2 separate regions of the Homo sapiens genome follow, and region 1 is linked to region 2. The links are contacts of gene promoters, found by promoter capture Hi-C in human tissues and cell types (Jung and others, 2019). All regions are on one chromosome and are shown on one strand. The core of a region is centred on a gene start or on the middle of the fragment in contact, and the rest is flanking DNA. Distances in the headings are between cores, read along the strand shown.

Evidence for each region. Contacts are between HindIII fragments. The study calls those that stand out against the background at their distance.
Region 1: a contact is called between a fragment that was not itself captured here and the fragment with the promoter of IGFL1 in region 2, in 10 of the 25 tissues and cell types used here (H1 embryonic stem cells, IMR-90 fibroblasts, aorta and 7 more).

The regions. Positions count from the first base shown.
Region 1 is chr19:46,170,307-46,173,697 of GRCh38, reverse strand. All of the region lies in intron 4 of LOC105372424 (a long non-coding RNA gene), which reads left to right. It also overlaps a transcript of IGFL2 not described here. Among named protein-coding and RNA genes, the nearest start is that of IGFL2, 24 kb to the right of the region's middle. RefSeq lists an enhancer at 2,516-3,066. The HindIII fragment of the contact is 4,773 bases long and covers 1-3,391 here.
Region 2 is chr19:46,228,290-46,231,627 of GRCh38, reverse strand. IGFL1 (IGF like family member 1) reads right to left here and starts at 1,886. Exons shown (of 4, transcript NM_198541.2): 1 at 1,829-1,886; 2 at 1,467-1,520; 3 at 1,111-1,354; 4 at 385-807. The coding sequence starts at 1,853. The coding sequence ends at 798. RefSeq lists an enhancer at 1,339-2,538. The HindIII fragment of the contact is 10,872 bases long and covers 1-3,338 here.

The DNA.
Region 1 (3,391 bases), core at 585-3,084, 58 kb after region 2:
TTTTGGTCATGGGAGGAGATTCCTCACAAATGTCTTGGTGCCCTCCTCACAGTAATAAGTGAGTTCTCACCCTGTTACTTTGTGCAAGAGCTGGTGACTTGAGTCTGACATCTCTCCTGTTCTCTGTCTTGCCATGTGACGTGACTGCTCCTCCTTTGCCTTCTGCCATATTGTAAGCTTCCCAAGGCCCTCACCAGAATCAGATGCTGGCACCATGCTTCCTGTACAGCTTATAAAACCGTGAGCCAATTAAATCTCTTTTCCTTATAAATTGCCAAGCCTCAGGTATTCATTTATAGCAATGGAAATGGACCAACAGAGGTAGTCTGCTTTATAATGGGTCAGAACGTGAATCACATGAGGATACGATAGTGCTTGTTATTCCTGAATTTTCCACATCATACAATTCACCTTCTGGGCTCCATATAGGGGAAGTGATTCTGGAAAACGTGGTTCCCACTTCAGAAGGAACAGTGGTGTTGGGGACACGTTGACAACAGAAAGTCTAGCACAGTCCACCCCATTCAAAAATAAGCATCTGTAGACATTTTCAACTTCCAAATAAAAGCAGCAACAATACTATTTTCCACCTAATGTGATGCAACTATTCATTTTACAACCCAAAGACCTTTAATCTTCTCTATGGAAGAGATATTTGAAAATGCTAGTCCGTCTCCCAGATGACTAACAACCCCTTTTGCTCTTTCATGCTATAAATACCAAGGATCAACCAATATAAACCTATATTACATAGAGGGGTATGAAGGCACTGAGACAAAAAGCAGAGGACTCAGTTAATACAGAAACTATATTCACATCAGCTGGGCATGGTGGCACATGTCTGTAGAGCTACTCAGAGGGCTGAGGTGGTAGGATTGCATGAACCTGGAAAGTGAAGGTTACAGTGAGCCAAGATCGCACCACTGCACTCCAGTCTACATGACAGAGCGAGACCTTGTCTGAAAAAAAATATATATATATACACATCAAAGTGAGGAAGATTATATAAATATCTAACTTAGTCCTTGTTTCAGCAGCTGGCCTTGAGGCTAAAGCTGGCATTTAAAAATTTCCTCTTTCAAGTTAGACACAGTGGCACATGCCTGTAATCCCAGCTACTCAGGTGGCTGAGGTGGGAGGCTCATTTGAGTTCCGGAGTTCAAGACCAGCCTGGGGAACGTAACAGAACTCCACCTGAAAAAAAATTTCTTCCACTATCCATTCCATAATCCCTATGCTCTCAGCAAACACCTCAACTGGCTGTGATTTTTTAACCTGGTGAAGTTACTCACGTCTTCATGAAGTATACATTCCCTCAGGAGTCCTTCCTGTAATGGATTATTATCATTTTCCCATGTTTTACAATGGGACGTGGGAGTTCTAAGAGGCATCCCACAGAATGCCTTGTGTGAGTGGTATAGTTATACTCTCTTCTGCCGATTGTGTAGTAACTACCCAATTCCCCCCTTGATAATCAGGACAATTTGCCACTTTTTACTATCAGGCTTTACACGATTTCTTCTACCTTAGACTATATAACCATTCAGTTACATCCAGGTTAATGGCTTCCACTTCCAAAGTCCGTATCTCTGGAGTCAACAGCAAGAACACTTCCTGCCAAGGACTACTCCAGATTTTTGCATGCTTAATCCAAAGCAAAAATAAGACCTTTTGAATTAGGGATGTTTCTATCATTAATCTTCATCACACATAATTTTTTTTTTGCAATTCAGATTCCTGGTGAAAGTTCTTCAGAGCTTCAAATTCCTTTTGGTGTAACAATATATTATTTGCACCAATTTTACCTGTACGGCACCCACTTTTCATTCTTATAAAACTTATCACTTGGTAAAAAAAATTCTCACTTTTCCTGAATGTCCTTTTGGTTCCTTGTAATATCCTCCATCTAGGCCATTCAACAGGGTGAGCTTCATACTGATGGGGAGTTCAAGAAGGGAGTTATCAAAAGATAAAGTAAGTGTACTCGCATTTTCTCCTTGAGAGGTTGGGTAAGTCAACAATAGACTAGACCTATGGAATATGAGAAACAGCAGGCTGTCCCTATAAGACAGGAGACTGCTGAGAGCTATGCTGAGTCCAAGGAAGAGAAGGCAGTTGTAAATTGTACTCAGAGTTAATTTGCCCTGACAGAAAATGGAGATAGAGAAAAATAAGACACAATACTCTGAAATGTGCATCTCCATGTCATTCCATGAATGGTATGGTCTAAGTTTGATTGTTTTATCAGTAGAGATTATCTTCGAACTCATCTGAGTGAGCAAGTCACCACTCTTGCCCAATAGCTTCTTCTCTCTGTCAATCTGAACCCCACCCATAATCTCGTCTTGAATAGCACCTCCCTCTGGCTGACTCCCCTTGACTTAGCTCCTGGCTCTTGACCCAGAAAGTGACTCATTCAGGCTATCACTTATCGGGGGAAGCAGCCCCCGATAATTCAACGTAGGTTCTTTTCTGTTTTCCCTAAGTGTCGGCCAGTCTGAGAAATAAAGCGAAAGAGTACAAAAGAAAGAAATGGTAAAGCTTGGTGTCTGGGGAAGACATCACAGGTCGGCAGGTTCCATGATGCCCCCTGAGCCATAAAACCAGCAAGTTTTTATTAGCAATTTTCAAAGGGGAGGGAGTGTACAAATAGGGTTTTATTAGCAATTTTCAAAGGGGAAGGAGTGTACGAATAGGGTGTGGGTCACAGAGATCACATGCTTCAAGGGCGACAAAAGATCACAAGGGCAGAAGGTCAGGGCGAGATCACAAGGTCAGGGTGAAACTAAAATCACTAATGAAGTTTCATGTCCCGCCGTGCACACATTGTCATTGATAAACATCTTAACAGGGTTCAAGAGCAGAGAACTGGTCTGACTAGAATTCGCCAGGCTGGAATTTCCTAATCCTAGCAAGCCTGGGGGTGCTGCAGGAGGCCAGAGCATGTTTCATCCCTTATCTGCAACTGCATAAGGCAGACACCCCCAGAGTGGCCATTTTAGAGGCCCCCCTGGGAAGGCATTATTTTCCCAGGGCTGTTAATTATTAATATTCCTTACTGGGAAAAGAATTCAGCAATATTTCTCTTACCTGTTTTCCGTAATAAGAGAAATATGGCTCTGTCCTGCCCAGCCCACAGGCAGCCAGACTTTAAGGTTATCTCCCTTGTTCCCTGAAAATCACTGTTATCCTGTTCTTAAGGTGCCCAGATTTCAAACTGTTCAAACACACATGCTTTACGAACAATTTGTGCAGTTAATGCAATCATCACAGGGTCCTGAGGCAGCATACATCCTCAGCTTATGAAGATGATGGGATTAAGAGATTAAAGATAGGCATAGGAAATTATAAGAGTATTGATTGGGGAAGTGATAAATGTCCATGAAATCTT
Region 2 (3,338 bases), core at 637-3,136:
AGAACAAACAGCCGGGTCCTGTTCTGTCCCAGAACTGGTGGGAGAGGGAGTGCCTCTCCGAAGCCCTCTCGCGATCCCCACCTCCTCCCCACCCCACCTGGGCTGCTCCCGATGTTGTGACTGGGTTCAGGGAGCCATGGGGTGGTGGAGGCTGGTGTAGGAGGGTGGCCCCTGTCCCAGGTGCGGCCAGGGTCCTAGTCACCGAGCACAAATAACAAAATAATAAATTTAAAAATAAATGGAAAAAGAGAAAATAAGTGTGTGCACGAACAGAACAAATGGAAAGGCCCAGATGCCTCAGGGTGACAGAGAGAAGGGGCCCCACGTCACCCTCTGTGACCCCTTTCAACAGTCCAAGCTCTCTAATTCATGAATTCTACAGCATTCATTTATAAAGTACATAAATTTATTATGATCCTGTGCTTTGCTCCTGGATAGAAGAGAACTTGAGATGATGGAAAATCTCACAGAAGGGTGAAGGGTTCCCCAGCCAGCCTTGGGGTGGTGCCGGGTTGATGTTGGCCATAGGGGTCATCAGGAGGGTTCAGAGTCCCTGGGCCCCCATCAGCACACGCATCTCATGCTGTCCAGAATTCTAGAAGGGGACCTGTGGGCCTCCTCAGGGCAGCTGCAGGGTGGGCCTCAGACAGGTCACAGAATGAAGTGGGCAGTTGAGTGTGTGTTTCTCTGGCCCCCAAACAGCCACTCAGCATCCCAGATCTCAGGTAACACCAGCCTCTTTCTCCAGGCCCACCCAGGAAGGAGAATCCAGGAGTCATCGTTCCCCTGATGTTCCATTAGCTGACACTGGAGATAGTGACAGAGAGAGACACTGAGCGGGACAGAGATGGCCAGAGATGGGGGCGAGACTGAACATGGGCAGAAATGAGGACAGGAGAGCCAGGAGGAGAGGACAGCGGGGTAGAGAGAGTGAGATTCTGAGAGGGAAATAAAAATGGATGGAGACACAGGTGTAGGGAAAGGGAGAGGTGGATTGAATAGAAGCAGGGGGCAGAGACAGGGAGACAAGGAGAATGGGGGCTCCACCCAGGGCAGAACAGGCATGCAGCTACCCTGCACCCACAATCCCACGGAGGGGACAGGACTCACCTGCGACAAAGCCTGTCATCCGAGGTCCGGGCTGAGTCGCAGTTCTGGTTTATCAGCTTCACCATGAAGGTCCAGGGGCAGCACTGCTCAAAGCAGACTCTGAAGGTGCAGTTTCCACACGTCTGGGTCCTGGCCAAGGGCACGACGGCATCATCATAGCAACAGTGCTGCAGGGGGTCGTAGAACTTGTCCCCACATCTCTTGTGTGGCTGGCACAGCATCAGGTAAGGAGTCATGGGGGCCACTGGAGGAGACAGAGCTGGTGAGATCCAGGAGGTAGTGGCAGGTGGGTCCCAGCCTGGGGTCCCCTGGAAGGTGTACCCCTCCTCCAGCTTCCCAAACACTCCTGGGCTCACCTGGGGCTCCGTGTGAGCAGAGGAGCCTGGAGATGCAGAAAATGGCAAAGACAGCTGTGGGAAAGGGAAAGGGAAGATGGGGTGAGTGGACAGCCACAGATATGACTGGCACTGACATTTAGAAGAAGACTGGGTGGAACCAGGGCTCGGTATGGCTTTGAGCAGCTCAGGGACTGAAACAGGGCTGTGGATGGGGCTGATCTGGGCACTATGGATGGGGAATTGCTGTGAGCAATTCACGCCTGGAGATTTGGCTGGGCATGGGAACAGGGATGAGGTGTAGTTTGGGGTAGGGAGAGAGCCCTGGTGGTGGCTGAGATTGGAGATGGGCTCAGGTGGGAATGGGGTCCTGTCCTCCTTACCTACGATGCAGCCTCGGGGAGCCATGGCTCTGGGTGGTTGCAGTGGAGTGAGGAGGGGATCAGCAGATCTCAGCCACTCCTTTTATCCCATATTTCTAGTGGAGCTGGTGATGTCATGGCATTTCCTGCCCTCCTGCAAGTCCTGCAGAGACAGGCTGGGTCCTTGGGCAGGAGAGGTGCCAGGCAGGGTACGTGTCATTGTAGCTTTGATCTCACCTTTGTAATCAGGAGAGAAGCGGTACACCCTCCACCTTCTCTGTGCTATGTGCCCCAATCGTCCCCCACACTGAGTCCTCTGGAAAATAGGAAGGTTCAGGATGCTCCTGGCATTAACACTCTCCGACACTCACATGTCCACACAGCGATTCCACAGGATCCTACTGAGCTATGACTTTCCTCAGTTTCCTTGGGACATTGCTAACCCATGACATCATTTCAAAGGGTCCCATTAGGTCCCAACCTCACAACCGAAACACATGGTCAAGAATCCAGTAACTTCTCAGTCACCTGCAGCTCATGGCATTCAGGTGGGAGAGACTGTGTGACTCAGGCACCTGACTTTCACAGGTTTGGAAGGTGGGAGTGGAGCTGGCGGGACCCCTGGGACTCAACACTCCTCTGGGGGCTCTTCATCTCCTTCTCTGTCTCATTAATGGTCATTTACCCAGGACAGGTCCACTTGGGAGCCTACATGTCCCAGGCTTCGTGTCAGACACCAGTGATGCAGTGCTGAGTAGAAAACGCAAAGTCAGTGTCTTCGTGACGTTCATGACAGTGAGAGGAGAGAGAGAGAGAGAGAAGGTAGGAGAATAAAACTCCTGATTTTGGTTATTGTCGTTCTTGTGTTTGGTGTCATTATCACTGTGAAGTTCTGGTGGAGAAATTCCACATCCCCCCCTGAGATTCTCAAAGGTGTTTTTCCTTAATGTGCTTTTTCAGAGGGTTGGGTTGTGATTTTCCCTGAGAAGAGCCATCTTGGGGTCAGGATGTGAGGACAGAGGGGAAGGAGCTGTTTTGGGTCAGTTCTGTGCCCCCCTACCCCTGCCCAGCTTCTGCAGGAATTCCTCCGCTCAAGCTCACAGGCCACACATGGCATGGACAAGCCGTTCTCCTCCGGGCCAGGCAAGGTGACCTGTCACCCTCTAGGCACCATGGCTGGCTCCTAGCAGGGCATGGATGTGGTTAGATTTGTGTGTGTGGAAGATCCTGCATCTGTGTTCCTGGGGAGCACGGATAGGGGCTTCTCTCTGGAGGCAGGAGACACAGGAAGAGGCTGCAGAGAAATGACTTCAATAAATACCAGAGTGCTCAGCACCCACCTTCTCCCTCGACAGAGCAGACCCTGCTTCCAGCACCATCTCCCTGTCTGCTCCCTTGGCCTCTGTTCCTTGCTGCTGTGGGGTACAGCAGTGTTTTCTAGGACACAGATTAGGATGTGCTAGTAGCATGGAAAATCAATTTACTTGGGCATAAACAATGTTATTTTTAAGTGAAGAAATGGGTTAGAAAA